2 separate regions of the Homo sapiens genome follow, and region 2 is linked to region 1. The links are contacts of gene promoters, found by promoter capture Hi-C in human tissues and cell types (Jung and others, 2019). All regions are on one chromosome and are shown on one strand. The core of a region is centred on a gene start or on the middle of the fragment in contact, and the rest is flanking DNA. Distances in the headings are between cores, read along the strand shown.

Region 1 (5,237 bases), core at 1,074-3,573:
GTTAACATTCTCCGTCTCCTCTGGTTCCAGTTTTTGCAGTGGGCTTAGGAAAATGCTTTTCCTCCCTTCATTTCCTTTATCACCCTCCCTCCTCCACCAAACATTCTGATCATGGCCATAAGCCCAAGCAGTGGCAGTGATAGACTTGTATAAAGAAAAGGAAAACCCATTGAACCTGAAAAGTAAACAGCACAAAGGTCAAATAACAACGAAAGGCTTGTCAAAGGCTTGTACATGGTTGCCAAGAGTGTGGTACTGGCAAGCAATGCTTTGAGACTGTACAGGTAGAGAGAAGTTATTAGGGCCGCAGCATCCATGGGAGGGCTTTGGGGAGAGAGAGAAGAGCTAGAGCTGACCCTGAAGGGACGGTGATTCCCAAACTGTGGTAATCTGGGTGGCCTGAGTAAAGTCATCTGTGCTCAGAGGCAGGGACCAGGTGGGTCTCTCTGGGATGGGGGTTTGTGTTGGAGGCAATGAGCAAAAGTCTGAAAGTATAATTTGAGCCCTTAATGGTAAAGTCCAGAAGTTTGACATCAAAGATGGCAGTGATTTGATCAATGTCGCTTACTGAGGTTTAAGGAAAGATACAAATTATCTGTAAAAATGTAAACTCAAAACAAATTTGTCAAAAGTTCAGTATAGTAGTGTATCACCACTGTGCTAAAGGTTTTCTTATTTCAAATAACTCAATAAAAATGAGGCAAACCATTCTGTAACTAGCTAAACTGAAGTCCATACCAACTATTTAATGCTTCAAAATAACCTTAAACTTCTACTCACTTATCATTCTACAATTTAAGTAAGTAATGTTTCACATTTTCAACAGAATGTATGCTTATAGACACATAAACACGAAAGATAGGGACAGATCATCTTGGTGACTTGCACGTATGTGGCAAGTGTCCTAGGGAAAGGAGCAGGCATGGGGTGAAGGTGGGAACAAGAGTGCCTGGCGTGACCATGTGAGGCAGGGCATTTGGCTATGTGTTGCTGTGTGCTCTGTCTCACCCCCGTGACCCAAGAATATTAGTGTGGCAGGGTGTGGACAGCAAGGATTAATGGGTCATTGGCAAACATGGGCGAGGCTGGTGTTTTACTCCCTTCTGAACAGTCTTCAGTACTATCAAGCTTTTGCTTGTTTTTTGGTGGTGTGGATGGCAGGTTTCATTTGCAGGGCCAAATATATATAAACTAATAACTGCCAGGAATGATTTGTGATATGGAATGAAATCTTTCAGTACTTTTTAAATGATAGAGGCATTAAAAGAATGCAGGAGAAATAAATTCCTGTGGATGAAGCAGACTTTTTTTGGGGGGACAGAATTACTCAGTTCTAACATTAACTATGTTTTATTAGTTCTTTGAAAAACCTGCAAATGATCTGGTCAGTTCTATAATTTTAAAATCTAAAATCGTTTACTATCCCAATACCCTAAAAACAATACTTACTGTGGGGTCTTTTATTAAGACTTTAAAGATACTTTTCATAAGCACAATTTTATTTCCTGGTGACTGGAAAAATAGGAAAATATTTAGAGCCTTTTGCTTAATTGATAAGGTAACACTGAAACAAAGGTTAAAAACAAAGCTGAATGGAGAAAATAATGCCTATAGAAATATTCATGTCAAACAGGTAAGAATATTCTTGGCAACTGCAGCCCCTGCCTCCACAATTGCAAAATTGCAGCTCCCTGTCCCTTCTGTCTGTCTCAGCTCCGCCCACGTCCAGTGGCTGAGCTACAACGAACTGCCCCACCTCTTTTAAAGCGTCTTTCTCTGAACTGTGCAAGGAAGAGAGCATCGCCTGACAGTGGTGAGGTGAAAATTAAAACTACACAGGGGTCAATGCTCTGCTGAAAAGTATGAAAAGAAGTTCGTTTGTAGCGTTTCCCGCAGTCTCCTCGCCTCTCCTCGGCCTCTGGCGCCTTCCTCCCCTGTCTGCTCGCACCCTATATTTCTACCCCAGCTCATCAGTGTATTTGTTTGTTAATTCATTCATTCTTTCATTCATATTCTCCGCTGTTGTTAATTTTCCCATTGACAGTAGGCGCAAGGGGCAACGCCACTCGCCCTGTCCCTCTAGCGTGGCCTCTGTTTGGGGGTCTGGGGTGGAGGTCGTCCCGGCCCGGGTGGTTCCGGACGCCGGCTTTCCGCACCTGGCTCGGTGACGGCCTCGGCGCCCCGCCCTCTTGGCCACGGTCCGCAGCCATCGCCCCAGTGAGGGCGCGGTCTGTGGGCGGGGCCGGCTCCAGGAGCCGCGCTGTGATTGGCCGTGTCCAGGCAACCGCGGAGACGCCGTCGTCAACAGACCGCGCTCGGAACCAGAGGCGCGGGTCACAGAGACCTAGAACAGCTGGAATCCTTCGCCCCCGGCGCGCAGCCTTCGCCCGCCGGAATCGCTGCCTTATCCACCAGCGGGATGCTTACCTCGCCCGCCCTCTCGGGTCAGGCGGGCCCGGGAGGATGGGAGGGTGGCTGCTGAGCGGGAGCCGCCACGTCTTCCACCCGACATATTGCCTAGTAAGTGTGGGAGCGATGCCTGCCGCACGAGAGCCGCCGAGGTGCCGAGCCTTCCAACAAGCGGCCTAGGGAGGTCTTGGAAAAATGCCATTTCTGAGGTGGACTACACGCCCACTTTACAGATGCGGAAACAGTACCAGGAAAGCTCGGTGACTTGCCCTGGCCCACTTAATCGTCCGCTACCCAGGGCAAGCCGAGGGTCAAGGTACCGACCCCTCCTACTCTAGAGCTCTTTCCATCACACCTCACCCGAGCCCACGCCCAGCCGCTCTGGTGGAAAAGCGGTTTTCCTAGTTTCTGTCTATGCCATAGGCCAGCAGTTCAAGGTGATGAAGTCCACCTGGGCTTTGGAGGGAACATGGGAACCAGAAGAAACACATTTCCTGAACATAAGGATAAATATGTATAGTCTAAAAGCCAAAGCAACACTTACATGGTTTCACAATCATATCAGTTTCTTTCACCCTCCTTATATGGAAATAAGACTTAATAAGTAGATTTAGTTTCCATTTGGTAGAGCTTTTCCTTTCATTTTCTTGGAAGCTCTGTTTCTTCTCAGCAATGACCTTCCTCCTAAAGCACTCCAATTATTCTCAGATATTGCCTTCTTGACTATTTTCTCAACGGTGGGACAGTCCGTTTCAATATCCTTGTCTCTGTCCACATTATTTGAGCCAATGATCACAGCCAAGCCTTGTCCCTTAAGGGCAGAAAAAATGGGAGGAGGTTTAAGGGTTTCTGGGGAAGAGTTGCATCAGGATCCATCATGAAGCTTCGTCCCAGTTTCCTTTCTTCCTGGAAAAATCATCGTTCACAAATTCACCTAAATCACAAGATATATATCCACCTAGCCCAGACTTCTTTTTCAGAAACTAACAGGGGTATAGGAAGTTTGGGGTGTTGATAATAAAGTAGCTAGAAGCTTATTGAATGTCTAAACTGGATTAATGGACTCTCAACCCTGCACTGTCCCTGAACCTCCGAGCACATAGGACCTTTTCTCTGAGGGCATGCTGACTTCACAAGACTGTCGCCCAGGGCAGCCCAGGAGCATCTGCTTCCAGTAGACGGGGCCCTTGTACAGTTGCCAGCTTAACCTTTCTATTTTCCCCAAAGCTTTGCCTGCCCACATTTTCAGCTCAGACTTTCACTTCCTTGTTTTTCCTTTTACACTTCCTCCTTCTTCTAAGGAAATACTTTCCTATCCAAACTCTATGTATGGTTCTTGGGATGGCCTCTAAAACTTAGGGCAATGCTCAACTCCGGTATGTTGTTGTTTCCGACTTCTGGGTTACTTGGTTCCCCAATTTATAATAACCTCAGCTGAGGAAACTCTGAATAATAGTAAATAAATAAATAAATAGCATAGTTTTATCAGAAAATAATATATCCCCCTTTATTTTTTTTTGAGACAGGGTCTCGCTCTGTCCCCCAGGCTGGAGTGCAGTGGTGCAATCTTGGCTTACTGCAACCTCTGCCCCCTGGGTTCAAGCAATTCTCCTGCCTCAGCCTCCCTAGTAGCTGGGATTACACGTGTGTGTTACCATGCCCGGCTAATTTTTGTATTTTTAGTAGAGACGAGGTTTCACCATGTTGGCCAGGCTGGTCTCAAGCTCCTGACCTCAGGTGATCCGCCCGCCTTGGCCTCCCAAAGTGCCAAGAGAGCACTTTGGCACTTTAAGGGGGCATTACAGGAGTGAGCCACCGTGCCCGGCCAATATATCCCTTTTTTAAAAGAGCTGTTTCCTGATATTAGCCTTATTAACACTGTGGATATTTGCCTTCTTTGAACAAAATCAGGATTCTCTTAGTAGCTCTGAGTGATCAGTTTTATTCATCTCAACTCTCACACCAAGTGCCTGCTGCGTATGAGGCCCTGTGCTGAGAATCTTCCTGTAGTTTGTCTCCGTAGTCATTGAACTGTCTTTAAGTCTAGTGAGGACAAGCCTGAAGTGCCTAAGACCTTAGTGATAAAGTATCATAGCAAAAGTTAGGGTTTTCCCAGGGAGGGGCTGCGGAAGGTTGTGAAGGGGTTTCGGGGAGGCTTAATGGCAGAGGCAGCATTTGAAATGAGACTTGCAGGCTAAGAGTCTGCATAGGAGAGCCGTCTGAGACCAACCTGGAGGTGGGAAAGCAGGCGGGCTAGTGGGGGTGGGGTGGGGAGAAGGGGGCTACGTCCCGGCTCGCAGCAGGCTTCCTTGCTCTGATAGAACAGTTCCTATCCCACTTGAGTGGAACAATTCCTTCTGTTGGGAGATGGCTTTTCTCCCTTTCCCCCTTTCCTTCCTTTTTTTTTTTCCAGACAATACAAATATTCCATTTGTATTTCAGACAATACAAATATTCCATTTGTATTTCAGACAATACAAATATTCTCAGGCTACAAAACGCTGGAGGTAAGATCTGAATCAGACTGGACTGTACAGGTTCTCAGATCCAGTAGAGCCAATTACACTTTTTTTAAAAATTAATTTTTTAAAAGTCATATGAGTGCAAAAGGGACTGGGGCGTGCACCTTAGCTATACTGGAGAAGTTTTGATTGCCTTTTTTGGGGATCAAAAACATGTCCCTTTAGCTTAAAAACAACACCTGTGACTATTCTGAACCCCTCTTTAAGGTTCCCAAATCCACTTTACAAAATCTTATTAGGGCAGTTTATGTAAAAGTGCTCCCTTTTAAACCTAGTACTCCCTTCAGCAAGAATATTGTAGGAGGT
Region 2 (5,237 bases), core at 754-3,253, 94 kb after region 1:
TACGTGATAGTTCATGTTAGAAAAAAACATTTCCCTGCCAGGAACCCCTTCTGCGTCTTCGTAGGGCTCCCGTGGTCCCAGTGGGGCCAAAATCTCAGGGTCCTTTCTGCCTTCCTTCCAGTGGTGTGCAAATGTTTAACAACCCACTCCCGGGAATGAAAAAAGCCCCGATGTGTAGCATGTGCTGATTTCCAGATTCCATAAATACTCCCACCATGGTCTCTTTCATCCTACCAAGCGGCCATCGCCCAGCATGGAGTTGGGAGATGTGCACAGCCAGCTCCAGACACCAGTGCCTCCTCAGCTTCACAGTTCCTCACCCCTCCTTTGTGTCCACCCCTGAGTAGCTCATTCTCCCTTAGGTGCTGTTCCAAGTTTCGAGTCATCTGGAAAAATAGTTTTCTGCTTGTGTGATATGCTGGCTTGTCCCGCTCAGGTAACATAACACAGTCTTCTCAGTGTAGATTACCTCTGGAAAACACCACGAGAATGTGCCTGAGGCTGGAGATGTTTAGGCAATTGGCATTGTGGTTATTCTTTTCCCTGTGAAGCTAAGGTGAGTTGTCCTAGATAGGGCACATGAGGTTTCTGAGCCTGCAGGGTGGAAAGCCAGGCTGTGAGTCAGGACACACTCACCAAGGTAACAAAGGGGCTTCAGGGGAGGCAGCCTCCTAGCCTTCGCGTGTTGATCGCCTCCACCTCATCACTTCTCTTTCCACCACATTACAGAGCATTTTCACGTGACCTACCTTCCTTCCTTTCTTCCTTTCTTTCTCTTTTTTCTCTTTCTTTTCTTTCTTTCTTTCTCTTCCTTTCTTTTTCTTTCTTTCTTCTTTCTTTTTCTTCTCTCTCTCTCTCCTTCCTCCCTTCCTCCCTCCTTCCTTTCTCTCTTTCTTTCTCTTTCTTTTCTTTCTTTCTTTCTTTCTTTCTTTCTTTCTTTCTTTCTTTTTCTTTCTTTCTTTCTCTCTTTTTCTTTCTTTCTTCTCTCTCCTTCCTCCCTCCCTCTCTCTCTTTCTTTCTCTTTCTTCTCTCTCTCTCCTTCCTCCCTTCCTCCCTCCCTCCTTTCTCTCTTTCTCTTTCTTTCCTTCATCTATCTCCTTCCTCCCTTCCTCCTTCCCTCCCTTTCTATTTTCTTTCTTTTTCTTTCTTCTCTCTCTCCTTCCTCCCTCCCTCCTTTTCTCTCTTTCTCTCTTTCTTTCTTTCTCTCTTTCTTTCTTTCTTTTCTTTCTTTCTTCTGTCTCTCTCCTCCCTCCCTCCCTCCCTTTCTCTCTTTCTTTCTTTTCTTCTCTCTCTCTCTTTCTTTCTGTCTTTCTTTCATTCTTTCCTCTTTTTTGATGGAGTCTTGCTCTCTTGCCCAGGCTGGAGCGCAGTGGTGCATTCTCGGCTCACCGCAACCTCCGCCTCCCAGGTTGAAGCAGTTCTGCCTCAGCCTCCCAAGTAGTTGGGATTACAGACACCTGCCACCACACCTGGCTAATTTTTGTATTTTTGGTAGAGATGCGGTTTCGCCATGTTGGCCAGGCTGGTGTTAAACTCCTGACCTCAGGTGATCCACCTGCCTTGGCCTCCCAAAGTGTTGGGATTATTGGCGTGAGCCACCATGCCTGGCCTCACATAACTTTTCTCACTGGATTGCTGCAGTTTACCTAGGAAGGCCAAGCAAATACTGTCTTCCAGCTGCAGGTGAAGAATCCTGCCTAAGCTCAGAGAGGTCAAGTGGAGTGACTCACCCAAGTTTGAGCAACTTGCTAGAAGGTGATGGAGCCAGGCCTTGAAGCCAGAGCTTCTGACTCCATCCTTACACATACATGGCTCCTGACACACAGCCTTGGTCTACTGGTCACCTTCACCCAGGCATGGGGCCAGTCAACTTTGGTAGAGGAGGAAGTGAAATAAAAAGTAACCCTGCTTTGCAGTCTTTTGAATTATTAGGTTGGTGCAAAAGTAGTCGTGGTTTTTGCCATTAAAAGCCTAATAATTCTTTGCCAGTCCTGCTTTGGAAAGCTGTTTTCTGAAATGAAACATGGGCTTTGTGTCTAATAAAGAACACGTTCCAAGTTGGTCAATATTAAGTTGGGGGTGTAATATGAATGGCTCATGCAGTATGAATGGCTGACAAGCTGTGATTCTACAGAGTCAGAAACAACCTCTGTTGAGATTGCATCGAATCCAGAAGACACCTGGGACTCTAAGACATGGCTGCAGAAATATGGCTTGAAGGCCCAGAAGCTATCCTTGTATGATGTGCTTGCCGACTGCTCTTTCCGCCACGCTGATGGGGTTGTGGATATAAAAGCCAAACCGGAGAATGAGTCCGTGCAGACCAGTGCGGTAGGTGAAGTGCACTCCTGGGAGGGGCTGGGGCCTCCCCTCAAGTCCTGGGTGGGTGAGGCCTCCATCGGGTCAGAAGGCAGGGGAAGGGGCAGCAGGGAGAGAAACCAGCTTGGGTTTCTGTGAAGAACAGGGTTCCTCTGTTTCCCTCCTCACCCTTCTCCAAAGGGCATCTGTGGGAGTGGAGATCAAGGCTGGGAATGAGTTCTAGACATCAGTGAGTTGTACATAAGCCAGGGGCTGGGTTTGGAGAAATCAGGCATTATGAGTTTCAGAATTATTCAACATTATGCAAATAGAGAAGCCCTTTGTTCCCCCATATTGAATGGAAAAGAGAAATTGCTGGTGAGTATGCCCAGCGCAGCAGGCGTTTCTGTGGTCCTCTTGTATTTTCCCTCATTATTCCAGTGACTAGCAGCCAGCATACAGCGCAATCCCAGCAAATAAGGAGTCAGATCCTCCAAAGGGCTATAACCATTAAAAACTTTGAAAGCTGCAGTTCTATTGTGGGTTTTGTAGGAATACAGCTTCTCCTAGTGCCTGACTCTGGCTCCCAATGAAGGACAGTGCTCGACAGCAGTGCTGCCTTAACTCCAGCATCATGCATATGAGTCAGTAGGTCCGAAATGTGGCTCAAGAATTTGCATCCATAACAACCCCCAGATGATGCTAACACTGCTGGTCCAGGGGCCACACCTTGAGAAGCAGAGAGGTGTAGAACAGGAACCAGAAGACAAGGTGTCAAAGGTTTAGAAGCATGGAAAGACTAAGAAGTGTCCCAATGTGAAATAGAAATCAGGATAAAATGAACATGGCAGATTTGCAAAACCAAAGGCAGGCTCTTTCAGGAGGTGGCAAAGTTCCAGGTACATGCTGTGAAGTGAACCTAAAATGCAAGCCCAGGGCAGACAGGCAGGTGACAGGCGGGTGACCGCAGCCCAGAGGAGACACCTGGGAAAGAAAATCAAGGCCCCCCCCTCAAATGCAGTGTCACCTCATGTATTCTTGAAGGCTCCGATTCAAAGTCAGGGTCATTACTGAGATGTTGTAACTCCAGCAGAGGGGGAACTCCAGTCCTGTTGCCACTTGTTATTAGGCTGGCCGGCCACTGAGCCCTACATGCCCTCCATGGAAAGGGCACTGTCCGTCGGGGCTATGTGAGCCACACCATGTTATGTTCTTGCCCCCTCACTGCTGTGCATTTATGACAAACTGCAAGGAAGAAAATATAAAAACTGAATTAGAAAAATGCAGAATTGATGCACGACTTGTTTCCTGGCTTACCCTAGGATGCAGGGTAATTGCTACAGCGCAGGGAAAATCTCATTTGTGGGTTTCCTCCCCCAGCACAGTTTTCTGGTTTTGTAGACATTATTCTGTAATGTTCAGGAAATCACACATAACTAAATTTTCATTTTAAAAATAGGCCAGGCATGGTGGCTTACGTCTGTAATCCCAGCACTTTGGGAGGCCAAGGCGGGCAGATCACTTGAGGTCAGGAGTTCGTGACCAGCCTGGCCAACATGGTGAAACCCCATCTCTACTAAAAATACAAAAATTAGCCAGGCATGGTGGCACGTGCCTGTAATCCCAGCTACTTGGGAGGCTGAGGCAGAACCCGAGAGGTGGAGCTTGCAGTGAGCCAAGATTGCGCCATTGCACTCCAGCCTGGGCGGCAGAGGGAGACTTTGTCTCAAAATAAAATAAAATAAAAAATACATTAGATTCTGGATATTTCAAAATATTAATCCCCATCAATTTGAACATAGCTTACTGCAAACTGACAACAATGTAGTATATTCAAGCTAGCTCTAATACTGATCATCTCCTAACTCATTCTTGTCAATTTTAAATGAAATTTTACAGGATCACTTTGAATAATTTGGCTTACAAGAGGGAATTTTACCTCAATTTTTTTGTGCTAGTCAACTGTATTATGGTAAAGATTGAGAATTATTAATATATAGTACAGCTCCCTTTTTTTTTTTTTTTTTTTTTACAAATACTGATGAGAAAGGGACAGTTTTATTTTTAGTCTTTGGGACTACATACTGAAACTGGATTCACACCTAAAATTGTGATGTGTATAAAGTAGGAAGAAACTAAGGCTGTGAAATAGGTAGATTATTTAGGGTTCCCCCAGACTCCCACTGGGCAAGACCCCCTAAATATTTAACAATAAAAACTAGTTTATAGGAACAGACCCAGGAAACTCGTTAACACAGAAATGAATGGCTAAAAAGGCCTTATTATGTAGCAGTTCAAAGATGATGAACAACTGGGAGGAGGAGACAAACATGCATTTCTAATAAGGGAATTTCAGGCCAAGCCTAAGAACTTGATATTTCAGGCATCCCTGAAATCACACTGCATGCACGGTTGCTTGAGCTCATGCACAAAACCAGGCCTGATGTTCAAAAACCCATTCTTGTCTCTTTGTCTATTTTTCAAACAAATATTTATGGAGCCCCTGCTATGTACCAGTTCATGTGATATGGCGGAAGGCACACTGGATACGGAACGAGAAGTTCTAGGTATAAATGCTGCTTCTAGTAGTTACTGATGATGAGATGTTGAACAAATCATGTGACTTCTTTGAGCTTCACCCTTCATATTTGTGAAATGGGTAGTGTAAAGTGCAAATTTACAAATGCATGTCTGAGCACAGTGCCCGGCACATAGGAGATGCCCCACAGATGTTGCCTTCCTTTTTTTCTGCACTACAAACATTGTGAGTCAGAATTGAGCATTTATGGAACGCTTCTATGCTTTATATTCAAGGTAAACATTTGTGCTCTCAGTTTACACAGGAGAAAACAGTCGCGGGACCTGTGAGAGGTTAGGTAACTCGCTTGAGATTGATCTTGTGGCAGTTGGAGGCAGGGTTTGAACTTGGGTCCACTGGG

What was found. Contacts are between HindIII fragments. The study calls those that stand out against the background at their distance.
Region 2: a fragment that was not itself captured here is called in contact with the fragment with the promoter of VWA3B in region 1 in 2 of the 25 tissues and cell types used here (bladder and mesendoderm cells).

Annotation. Positions count from the first base shown.
Region 1 is chr2:98,084,844-98,090,080 of GRCh38, forward strand. VWA3B (von Willebrand factor A domain containing 3B) reads left to right here and starts at 2,324. Exons shown (of 28, transcript NM_144992.5): 1 at 2,324-2,520. RefSeq lists enhancers at 2,052-2,552, 2,449-2,518, 2,553-3,053. The HindIII fragment of the contact is 7,495 bases long and covers 1-4,939 here.
Region 2 is chr2:98,178,882-98,184,118 of GRCh38, forward strand. It overlaps VWA3B (von Willebrand factor A domain containing 3B), which reads left to right. Exons shown (of 28, transcript NM_144992.5): 9 at 2,135-2,331. Among named protein-coding and RNA genes, the nearest start is that of VWA3B, 94 kb to the left of the region's middle. The HindIII fragment of the contact is 8,998 bases long and covers 1-5,237 here.